4 separate regions of the Homo sapiens genome follow, and all the other regions are linked to region 3. Evidence: promoter capture Hi-C in human tissues and cell types (Jung and others, 2019). All regions are on one chromosome and are shown on one strand. Each heading gives the region's core, a stretch centred on a gene start or on the middle of the fragment in contact. The rest is flanking DNA. Distances are from core to core; before and after follow the strand shown. Region 1 has its middle 15 kb from the start of ZNF774. Region 2 has its middle 40 kb from the start of ZNF774. Region 3 holds the start of FURIN (furin, paired basic amino acid cleaving enzyme). Region 4 has its middle 29 kb from the start of NGRN.

Region 1 (2,700 bases), core at 83-2,582, 530 kb after region 3:
ACACCAATATCTATAAGCAACAAATAGTCATATTAATGGTAATTGTAATGAATGCTTGTTATAGACAACGGGAATGCAACATCCCTGGCTTATGAATTTGCCAATTGCTCTTCCTCATTGTGGGTCTTTCTCATAGAAGATGGGCAGTGCCTCTTTTGTGAGAACATTTCTGGGCCAAGGATATCAAGAGACACGTTGGTACACATCAGCCTAAATACATTACCTTATTTCATCTAGAAGGCCACTTATGTACCACCAAGAAAGGGAACAAAACTGCCGATTAAACTCTGACATTCTGTCAATTGTGAGATAAATCCTGATTTCAATGATGTTAAAAGGTAATAAAATGGCTGGGCATGGTGGCTCATGCCTGTAATCCCAGCACTTTGGGAGGCCGAGATGGGCGGATCACCTGAGTTCAGGAGTTCGAAACCAGCCTGGCTAACATGGTGAAACCCTGCCTCTACTAAAAATACAAAAATTAGCCGGGCATAGTGACGGGCATCTGTAATCCCAGCTATTCAGGAGGCTGAGGGGGGAGAATCCCTTGAACCAGGGAGGCGGAGGTTGCAGTGAGACGAGATCACATGACTGTACTCCAGGCTCAGTGACAGAGCGAGACGCCAACTCAAAAAAAAGGTAATAAAATGTACATCTCAGAATGAGTGCAGTGTGCAAAGTGCCAGTGTTCCCACCTGTACTAGACTGGTTTTTTTTTGTTGTTTTCTGTTTTATTTATTTATTTATTTATTTTGAGACAGGGTCTTGCCCTGTCATCCAGGCTGAAGTGCAAAGGCATGATTATGGCTCACTGCAGCCTCAATGTTTGGGGCTCAAATGATCCTCCCACCTCAGCCCCTAGAGTGGCTGGGGCTACAGATATGCACCACCACACCCAGCTAATTTTTAAAATTTTTTTTTATAAAGACAGGGGTCTCTCTATGTTGCCCAGACTGGTCTCGAACTCCTGGGCTCAAGTGATCCTCCTGCCTCGGCTTCTCAAAGTGCTGGGATTATGGGCATGAGCCATCAAACCTGGCCCTGTACCAGATTCATTTTACATGCCGTTACAAATCCTGCACTTGCCTTGCTTTCTGGCCAGAACTCTAACAATGACTTGCTCTGTGGTAGCTACTCCAGGTTCCTCATGTCACGTAAGGGCATGACACCACAGCACCTGGCCTTGCACCAGCATCTCTGCTCCTATCCTCCTGCCATGTGGGTTTCCTGTTGCTATTGATATGAGAGACCCTGTGGACCATCTCAAATCCCATGGATGCACAGTGGCTTACCCTCCAGGTTGATGCTTGGCCATAGAGGCTGACACTTCTGTCTTGGGTTCTGGCTTTCTCCATGGCTGCTGGAGGAGTTGGGCGGCTCAACTCATAAGCTAAAAGGAGTTGACACCCTGAGGGGCAAACTTCGACCAATAGGAGATGGCAGCCTATAGATAAACGTATTCCCTTCCTTACCCCCTCCCCACCTGGGCCTCTTCCTGTGACTGCACAGAGTGTGGAGAGATGCAGTGGCTTACTCTGGCTTCTCAGAGACTCGCTTCCCCTATGCGAGCTCAGTTGCTTCTTCTAAGAGTGAGGAAGCAATTGTGCTTGCCTAAGTTGTGGTCAGGACCATCATGCATGCTCTTATGTTGACTCGTCCTCGTTGTTTGACTTGTTCCCCTTTTCCCTTCACTCATGCCTCCCTGGGATTCTATACTCTCATAAAGCTTTGCCTCAGGCTCTCTTTTCTAAGGAACCCAGGCTAAGACACCAACTCAACTGACACATTTTGTGGGAATGTGGTCATGTGCCAATGTAAATAGGGAAAAGAGAAGGGGTATGAAAAGAGAGGAGAGGTAGAAGCAGCATTCTGGAATTTTCCAAGATGTCAGTATCAGGACTTAATAATTTTTTACTCACAAAAGGCAGTTGATATAGAAGATCTCTTTATGCTCAGATATAACAGCTACTATTTGCCTTTAGAAGGAAGTAGATCCAACATCTGACTTCTTAGAGATTAATTATAATAATTACAATGAATGGTGATAATAGCTCCTTTGACCTAGCATTTCCACTTCTAAGAATTTATCCTAGAGATACTTCTGAATGTACACAAAGTTGTGTATACAAGATAATATTACATTGTTTGTCATAATGTTTGTAGTAACAAAAGAGTGGAACAGCCAGGCATGGTGGCACACATCTGTAGCCCCAGCTATTCAGAAGGCTGTGATGGAAGAGTCCCTTGAGCCCAGGAGTTCAAGGCTATGGTACACTATGATGTCACCTGTGAATAGCCACTGCACTCCAGCTTGAGTAACATAGTGAGGCCCCCATCTCTAAAAATAATAATAATAATAATAATAAATAGAAACAACCCAAATGTCAATCAGTAGGAGACAGTCTAAATGAATTATGATTCCAAGGCCATGAAACAGTATGTAGCCATTAAAAATAATGAGGTTGGCTGGGTGCGGTGGCTCACGCCTGTAATCCCAGCACTTTGGGAGGCCAAGGTGGGTAGATCGCCTGAGGTCAGGAGTTCGAGACCAGCCTGGCCAACGTGATGAAACCCAGTTTCTACTAAAATTACAAAAAATTAGCTGGGTGTGGTGTTGGGTGCCTGTAATCCCAGCTATTCAGGAGGCCAAGGCAGGAGAATCACTTGAACCTGGGAGGTGGAGGTTGCAGTGAGCCAAGA
Region 2 (2,700 bases), core at 165-2,664, 560 kb after region 3:
AAGCAGTGCTAAGAGGGAAGTTTATGGCAATAAACACTTACCTTAAAAAAGTAGAAAAACAGGCCAGGCATGGTGGCTCATGCCTGAATCCCAGCACTTTGGGAGGCTGAGGTGGGCAGATCACCTGAGCTCAGGAGTTCGAGACCAGCCTGACCAACATGGAGAAACTCCGTCTCTACTAAAAATACAAAATTAGCTGGGCGTGGTGGCGCATGCCTGTAGTCCCAGCTACTTGGGAGGCTGAGGCAGGAGAATCGCTTGAACCCGGGAGGCAGAGGTTGCGGTGAGCCGAGATCACACCATTGCACTCCAGCCTGGGCAACAAGAGCGAAACTCCGTCTAAAAAAAAAAAAAGTAGAAAAACATCAAATAAACAACGTAACAGTGCATCTTAAAGAAATAGAAAAGCAAGAGCAATCCAAACCCAAAATTAGTAGAAGAAAAGAATAAAGATCCCAGAGCAGAAATAAGTGAAATTGAAATGAAGAAAACAATAAAAAAATCAATGAAATGAGAAGTTGGTTTTTTGAAAAGATAAACAACCTTGACAACCTTTTAGCCTAAATAAGACTAAGAAAAAAAGAGAGAAGACCCAAATATATAAAATCAGAGATGAAAAAGGAAACATGACAATTGATACCACAAAAATTCAAAGGATCATCAGTCAATATTATAAGGAATTACATGCAAAAAATTGGAAAACTTAGAAAAAAATGGATAAATTCCTAAACACGTCCAGCCTACCAAGATTGAATAACGATGAAATGCAAAACCTGAACAGACCAACAACAAATAATGAGATCAAAGCTGTAATAAAAAGTCTCCCAGCAAAGAAAAGCCTGGGACGTGATGGTTTCACTGCTGACTTTTACCAAACATTTAAAGAGAACTAATACCAACCTTACCCAAACTACTCCAAAAATAGTGGTGGAGGGAATACTTCCAACTCATTCTACAAGGCTAGTATTACCCTGATACCAAAACGAAAGATACATCCAAAAAATAAAACTACAGGCTAATATCACTGATGAATATTGATGCAAAAATTCTCAACAAAATATTAGCAAATTGAATTCAACAACACATTAAAAAGATCATTCATCATGACCAAGTGGGATTTATCCCAGGGATGCAAGGATAATTCAATATACCCAAATCAATCAATGTGATACATCATATCAACAGAATGAAGAACAAAAACTACATGATAATTTCAATGAATGCTGAAAAAGCATTTGATAAAATTCAACATCCCTTCAGGATGAAAGCCCCTTAAAAACTGAAGGCACATACATCAACATAATAAAAGCCATATACAACACACCCACAGCTAGTTTCATACTGAATGGGGGAAAACCAAGAGCCTCTTCTCTAAGATCAAGAACATAACAAAGATGCCCACTTTCACCACTGTTAATCAACATTGTTCAGGAAATTCTAGCTAGACCAATCAGACAAGGGAAATAAATAAAGGGCATCCAAACTGGAAGGGAAGAAGTCAAATTATTCTTATTTGCAGATGGTATAATCGTATTTTGGAAAACTCTAAAGACTACACACACACACACACACACACACACACACACACACACACAAAACTATTAGAACTGATAAATCAATTCAGTAAAGTTGCAGGATACAAAATCAACATACAAAAACCAATGGCATTTCTGTATGTCAACAGCAAACAGTCTGAAAAAGAAATCAAGAAAGCAATTCCATTTACAATAGCTACAAATAAAATAAAATACTTAGAAATTAACCAAAGAAGCCAAAGTTCTCCACAATGAAAACTATACACTGATACAAGAAATTAAAGAGGACACAAATGAAAAGATATTCCGTGTTCATGGATTGGAAGAATCAATATTGTTCAAACATCCATACTACCCAAAGCAATCTACAGACTCAATGCAATCTGTATCAAAATATCGATGACATTCCTCACAGAAATAGAAAAAAAAATCCTAAAATGTATATGGAACTACAAAAGACCCGCCATAGCCAAAACTGTCCTAAACAAAAAGAACAAAACTAGAGTAATCACATTCCCTGACTTCAAATTATACCAGAGAGCTAAGTAGCCAAAGTGACATGGTTACTGGCATAAAAACAGACACATAGACCAATGGAACAGAATAGAGAACCCAGAAATAAATCCATACATCTACAGTGAACTCATTTTTGACAAAGGCGCCAAGAATACACATTGTGGAAAGGACAGTCTCTTCAATAAATGGTGGTGGGAAAATTGGATAACCATATACAGAAGAATGAAACCAAACCCTTCTCTCTCACCACATACAAACATCAAATCAAAATGGATTATACACTTAATTATAAGACCCCAATCTATGAAACTACTGAACAAAAACATTAGGGAAACTCTCCAGGACATTGGAGTGGGCAAAGATCTCTTGAGCAATACCCTACAAGCGCAGGCAACCAAAGCAAAAATGGACAAATGGGATCACATCAAATTAAAAAGCTTCTGTGCAGCAAAGGAGACAATCAATAAACTAAAGAGACACCCTGTAGAATGGGAGAAAATATTTGTAAACTACCTATCTGACAAGGAATTAATAACAGAATATATAAGAAGCTCAAACAATTTAATAGCAAAGATCTAATAATCTAACTGAAAAATGGGCAAAAGATCTGAATAGAGACTTCTCAAAAGAAGACATACAAATGGCAAAC
Region 3 (2,809 bases), core at 25-2,524:
AGGGACAGGGCTGGCCCCACCTACCCACTTGTCCTCAGGCCTAGAAGAAAGGTCAGCCCAGAAAAATAGCAATACTTGCTGCTTCAGGTGCCCCACCCATCCTGGAGACTGGCCCCAGGGGAGCCCGCAGTGGGTCTTTGGAGGGGGAGGGGCTAGCCTAGGCTCAGATGACTGCCACCCAGGCAGAGGCGGTGGGAAGTGGAGCTTCCCAGTTTCTTCCAGCCAGCTTGCCTCTTCAATCTGCATAAGGCAAAATTCTTTAAAGTGGGTTCTCAGAGGTGCCTCCCTGAGAGGGAGGAATGAGGACAGGATTGGGCAGTTGAGCACCTCTCTCTGCTTCACCCAGAGTGTCTCACATTTTAGGGTTTCACATGAGATTGTATTTTACAACAATTCTGCTGCTAAAAAGAATTTGAAAGCCACTCTCTGTGAGACTTCTCTGGAAAAAAATCCCATTTGACCACAACTGGTGACTTCTGCCTTTATCTCATTGCAACAAGTCCTGTGGGCAGGTATTGTTCTCTTTATCACTCTCAACTGGCCCTGGAGCCCAGGTCTCCTGACCTGGGGCCCTAGGGGCCCAAGGTCCTCTGGATCCCACCTTACCAGTTTTACACAGCAGTTAGCAGGACTTGGGCATGTGACAGAAGTCTGGAGATGAGTGAGAGGAGCAGGGCCTGATGGGTAAGTGGGGGCTGTAAAGGGGCTCCATTTTCCCAGCAGGGCTCTGGGAGGAAGAGTCCAGCTAGGCCTCTCTTTATCCTTGATTTGGGGCTAATCCAGAGAGGCTCCTGAGAATCACATAGTCCTAAATCCACCCAGTCATCCTGACTCCAAGCACTCCTGTTGTCTCCTTGGGGTGCTCTGGGAGTCTTCTCTGAAATCTCTGGTCCACCTCAGGCACAGCAAATAAAGCCTTCGGCAGCAGCACCCACACCTAGTTGTAAGCAGAATGTCTACACAACATTCAGACGTGCATAGAAGGGTGCACAACAAAATTCCATTGGTGTTCTCTCCGAATGAAAGGGTCACATTTGCGATCTTTGTTTTCTTCTTTTTGCCTACCTGCATTTTTCAGGAATGTCTACAAGAACTCCTAAAATAATTAAACCTTTAAGTCAATGCAAAATCGAATAAAGCATGTCCATACTTCACCATCCAGCTCCAGAGCACCTGGGATTCATCCTGGCCGCTGCTGCTTCCCCGCCACTCACTGCAGCTGCAACAGTCAGGCTCCTATCCCTTCACAGGGCGGGGCCCTTCCAGTTCTGGCTAAACCACTTTGGGAAAACCTTCTTTATATGACAGGCAAACAGGGTGTCTGTGGGTGGGGGGAGGAGCTAAAAGTGATGTGGTGGTGACATATCTGGTCGCACTGGAACTGGATCCTAACATGGCCAGCCAGCCCTTCTCATTTTCCTCATTTATTGGGGTGGGTCTGCACTTACCTTCTGCCTGGCTTTGCTGCATCCCAGCCACTGGCTGACTTAATGACTTCCTTCCGCCAGCTCCAGCTCCTTGTGTTCTGCCTTGCCTTCCATGGCCAGCCAGTGCTGCCACAATTATGTACCTAATAAATGCTTTGGGTGCAGTCTCGCCTGGCAGACATTCATTGAGCAGCTGCTGAACGCTGGGCTCTGGTGCCCCATAGCTGGGTCCCTTAGAGCTTGTCCATAGGAAGCCAGAGACCACCTCTCTAGTAGGGTTGCATGGAGGTACCTGGGACACACCAGGGTCTTCCTCAGTCTGCGACCTCCCTGGCCTTCCAGCTTCAACAAGCCTGCTGCCCATCCTTCTCTCTCTCGATTCAGAAATGTGAATCACTCAATCCTCATAGTTTTTTTTGTTTGTTTGTTTTATGGGTTTGTTTTTTTTTTTTCTAGACAAGAGTCTCGCTCTGTTGCCCAGGCTGGAATGCAATGGCCTGATCACAGCTCACTGCAACCTCTGCCTTCTGGGTTCAGGCGATTCTCATGCTTCAGCCTCCCAAGTAGCTGGGATTACAGGCTTACGCCACTCGTATTTTTTTTTTTTTTTTTTGTATTTTTAGTAGAGATGGGGTTTTGCCATGTTGGCCAGGCTGGTCTCGCACTCCTGACCTTAAGTGATACACCCACCTCGGCCTCCCTAAGTGCTGGGATTATTAGGCGTGAGCCACCACGCCCGGTCCCCTTGTTGAGTTTTCAATCAGTTTGTCATCCTGAACAGGGTTTCTCAACCTTGGCATTATCAACATCTTGGGTCGGATAATTCTCTGTAGGGGACACTGCACTCTACATTGCAGGATGTTCAGTCGCATCCCTAGTCACTAAACATTAGCTGCTAGTAGCATTCCCGCTCCCATGATGACAACCAAAAAGATCTCCAGGTATTGCCAAATGTCCCTTGGGAGACAAAAATCTCTCCCAGCAAAGAACCACTGTCGCAGAATGAGGAGTGGGAACGTCACAGGATGGTGGTTAGTGTGCCAGGGTTCGAGGCAGCAAGAGTTGTCTGCTGGGAACTAAGCTCTGAGACAGCTAGCAGTGAGGGAGAAAACTCCCAAACTTGAAACTGCCCAGTATGCCAGCACAACAATGGGCCGTTTAGTGATCAGGGCAAACAATCATGCATCCTCATGACATCTGAGATCACTTTCCATCGTGTTGGTGATAATGCTGAATCAAGGAAAGGATCAATCATGTTGATCATACTCCATTTTCTAAGGTGGGGAGGTGTGTGAGCCCTTGTAGCATTAAAGACGTATTTGGAAAACAGATCAGTGCTTGCTTGGGGAAGGGGGCAGGGAGGGGCGGGAGGAAACTTTTGG
Region 4 (2,700 bases), core at 143-2,642, 570 kb after region 3:
AGTACAGTGCTCATTCTTGGCACCAAAACAAATAAAACACACTCTATCCTGCACATACCTGCCAGAGCAGGCCACTTTCCTCTTCTGGGAGATTTAAAAAGCTCCCCAAAATGTTATTACTCCCATCCCCAATACACAGAAAAAGGGGGAAAGGCTGTTTCCAGTGCTCCGCCTTTAAGCAACTGTAAATGTCAGTACTCACAGTGGCATATTACAAAGTAATAGACCGCGCACTTCAGGGCAAACCACATATTGAGCTGATGAAGAGCTCACTGTGATTAGGATTCGATCAAACATAATAGCAGAACATAAGCAAATTTTATCTGAATTCCATAATAAATATACATGCTGCAATAACATTAAAAAAGCATGGCAGCCTATCCCAAACCAGGAAGAATAGTTTTGTGCAAATAGTGGGTCTTTGTGTGTTTGAACACCCACCACATAAGGGCAAACTTGATATGCATGCTAATGACCTACAATTATCAAATTAAAAAAGAAACATGCTAAAGGATGCCAGAGTGAACATGAGGAAAAGACCCACTCTCCTTTAACTTTTTACAAATAAAATTTAAACTATAAATTAGAAACACAAATAAACATGAGTGGCTCTAACATTCAAATGAAGTAAATGAATTGTGTAGGAGATTAACCCCTTAACTTTTTTTTTTTTTTAATTTCTTGACCAGCTCTTAGATGATGGTGGTGTTTATCTCCCTGTTCTCGGCAGCTCGAAAAGAAAGGCATGCAGAGATTGCTGCCCAAGCCTGGGTGCTCCTGGGGAGTCCTGCGTTACAGGAAGCAGCTGCATGATCTGCTGTGCAGTGGGGTTGTCGTGGGGAGAACCCTCCCTGGCCTCTCCTGGTGCGGGCTCCACGCTGTCAGTGAGGCTCACCTCACAAAGATCTTCGGAGAGAGGGAGGAGGGGATCGGAGCGCCATGCGAGCCTCCCCTGCTCCTGCCTGCTCACCCTGCCTGAAGGTTCTACTGGCCATCCTGCTTGTCAGCACACACAAGCTCTTGGGGGGCTGGGGCTCCTAGAGTGGGCTCATCAGCAGGGTTCTGGGCAGTGGCCAGGAACTTGCCATGTCCCTCATTGTGGTCTCTCACAAGCCGCAACACCTGCCCCTGCATCTCCAGCAGGTTCACCTGGAGGGAGGGGTGCTCAGCTGCCATACTGGTGCCGGCACCCACGTTCACCCCCACCCCCGCCCCCACAGAGATGTTGCACACCCTACCTTCATCTCCTCCCGGTCCTGGGCCAGCCTGACGATCTCCTCCTCCTCCCGGTGCCGCATCTTTGGCACTGTCCCCTGGCTCCCATATGGGGTGATGTACTTTCCTGCGGGAGGACATGGCTCAGATGCTGGAGCCCCTCCGACGGCCCTGCAGCTCCCCCTGCCGTGCCCTGGCCTCCCGCTCACTCATGGTGTCTGTCTTTCCCGAGAGGTGGATGAATTGAAGCTTTAGTTTCTCCACCCACTCCCTCAGGTCCACCTTCTCCTTCAGGAGGTCCATAAAGTCGCTCTGGAGCCAAAATAATGGGATCACGTCTCAGGAGCCACCTGCCTTGCCCCACCCCCACCCTTCTTGGCCTATGCCAGGACCTACTCATCTACAACTTCTCCTTGGCCCCCTGCAGGGCCCGGTGGGTCCCCCCACACACAGACTCACCCCCAGTCCCTGGGGCTGGGGCTGCTGCTTCTGGCTTCTTCTGGGACGAGGCCACTGGGTGAGCCAGGGGCTGGCAGCACATCCTTTGCTCCTCCTGGGCACTGGTTCCAGCGGAGTTGAAAAATGCCACCTGAAGGCAAGAGGTGAGTGTTCTTGTAGGGGCATACACAGAACAACTGGGGCAGGGAGGTGGAGCGCAGCCCCTTCCCTTGGGGCCTCAGAGAGTGCACCTGTTGGTCACAGGTGAAATGGTGTCTGATCACTGGCTCCCGGAAGGAGTGAAAGTCCACAGAAATCAGAAAGCGGGGAAACCAAGAACATAAGGGGGTCTGGGAGGGACCACAGAGGAAGGTGGCAAAGTGGGGGCAGGGCAAGTCAGGCTCACCACCGTCTCCCGGCTCTCCAGGTCCCCTGGGATGTTCGGCATGGGCTGAGGCGCCTCCTCCTCCATCTCCTGTGGGGGGGTGGCCAGAGGGGTCCTCAGACAACCCAACAAGGGAGGTACTGTGGGCTCACCTCTGCCCCCACACTCACTGTGTAACCTTGAGCCAGCCCCTCCCCAGAGGGGAATGAGCTGTTCTTTATTTTTACTTTTAAGAACCAAGATCTTGCTATATTGCCCAGGCACAGTCCCACTACCGATTGGTGCAGGAATTCTGACCTGCTCCATTTCTGACCTGGGCCAGTTCTCCCATCCTTAGGCAACCTGGTGGTCCCCCGCTCCCAGGAGGTCACCATATTGATGCCAAACTTAGTGCAGACACCCAGTCAGCATAATGGCCAGCTGTCTTAAAGGTCTCTTCCATCTCCTCAATCCTACAGTGCTAACAGTCCCCCTTTCCTCCTGGGGCTCTCTCCTCTTCCTCTGAGTGGTGTCCCGTACCTTCCCCAGGGAGAGCCATGAGGCTCAACTGGGCCTGTAGTTGCTGGTTCTGCTGGCTGGTAGCTTCCAGGTGCTCCTGAGATGCCAGGAAAGAGGGTGAGAAGGCACAGAGGTTGCCAGGTTGTCCCTCTTGGGGCCCCGTC

What was found. Contacts are between HindIII fragments. The study calls those that stand out against the background at their distance.
Region 1: a contact is called between a fragment that was not itself captured here and the fragment with the promoter of FURIN in region 3, in 1 of the 25 tissues and cell types used here (spleen).
Region 2: a contact is called between a fragment that was not itself captured here and the fragment with the promoter of FURIN in region 3, in 1 of the 25 tissues and cell types used here (mesenchymal stem cells).
Region 4: a fragment that was not itself captured here is called in contact with the fragment with the promoter of FURIN in region 3 in 2 of the 25 tissues and cell types used here (dorsolateral prefrontal cortex and lymphoblastoid cells).

Annotation. Positions count from the first base shown.
Region 1 is chr15:90,335,882-90,338,581 of GRCh38, reverse strand. No RefSeq gene overlaps it. Among named protein-coding and RNA genes, the nearest start is that of ZNF774, 15 kb to the left of the region's middle. The HindIII fragment of the contact is 7,838 bases long and covers 1-2,700 here.
Region 2 is chr15:90,310,794-90,313,493 of GRCh38, reverse strand. No RefSeq gene overlaps it. Among named protein-coding and RNA genes, the nearest start is that of ZNF774, 40 kb to the left of the region's middle. The HindIII fragment of the contact is 8,060 bases long and covers 1-2,700 here.
Region 3 is chr15:90,867,053-90,869,861 of GRCh38, reverse strand. It overlaps FURIN (furin, paired basic amino acid cleaving enzyme), which reads right to left and starts at 1,274. Exons shown (of 16, transcript NM_002569.4): 1 at 1,151-1,274. RefSeq lists enhancers at 1-103, 41-150, 1-183, 251-300, 1-742. The HindIII fragment of the contact is 14,305 bases long and covers 1-2,809 here.
Region 4 is chr15:90,293,765-90,296,464 of GRCh38, reverse strand. It overlaps the pseudogene GOLGA2P8 and the pseudogene RN7SL736P. Among named protein-coding and RNA genes, the nearest start is that of NGRN, 29 kb to the right of the region's middle. RefSeq lists an enhancer at 2,248-2,700. The HindIII fragment of the contact is 7,947 bases long and covers 1-2,700 here.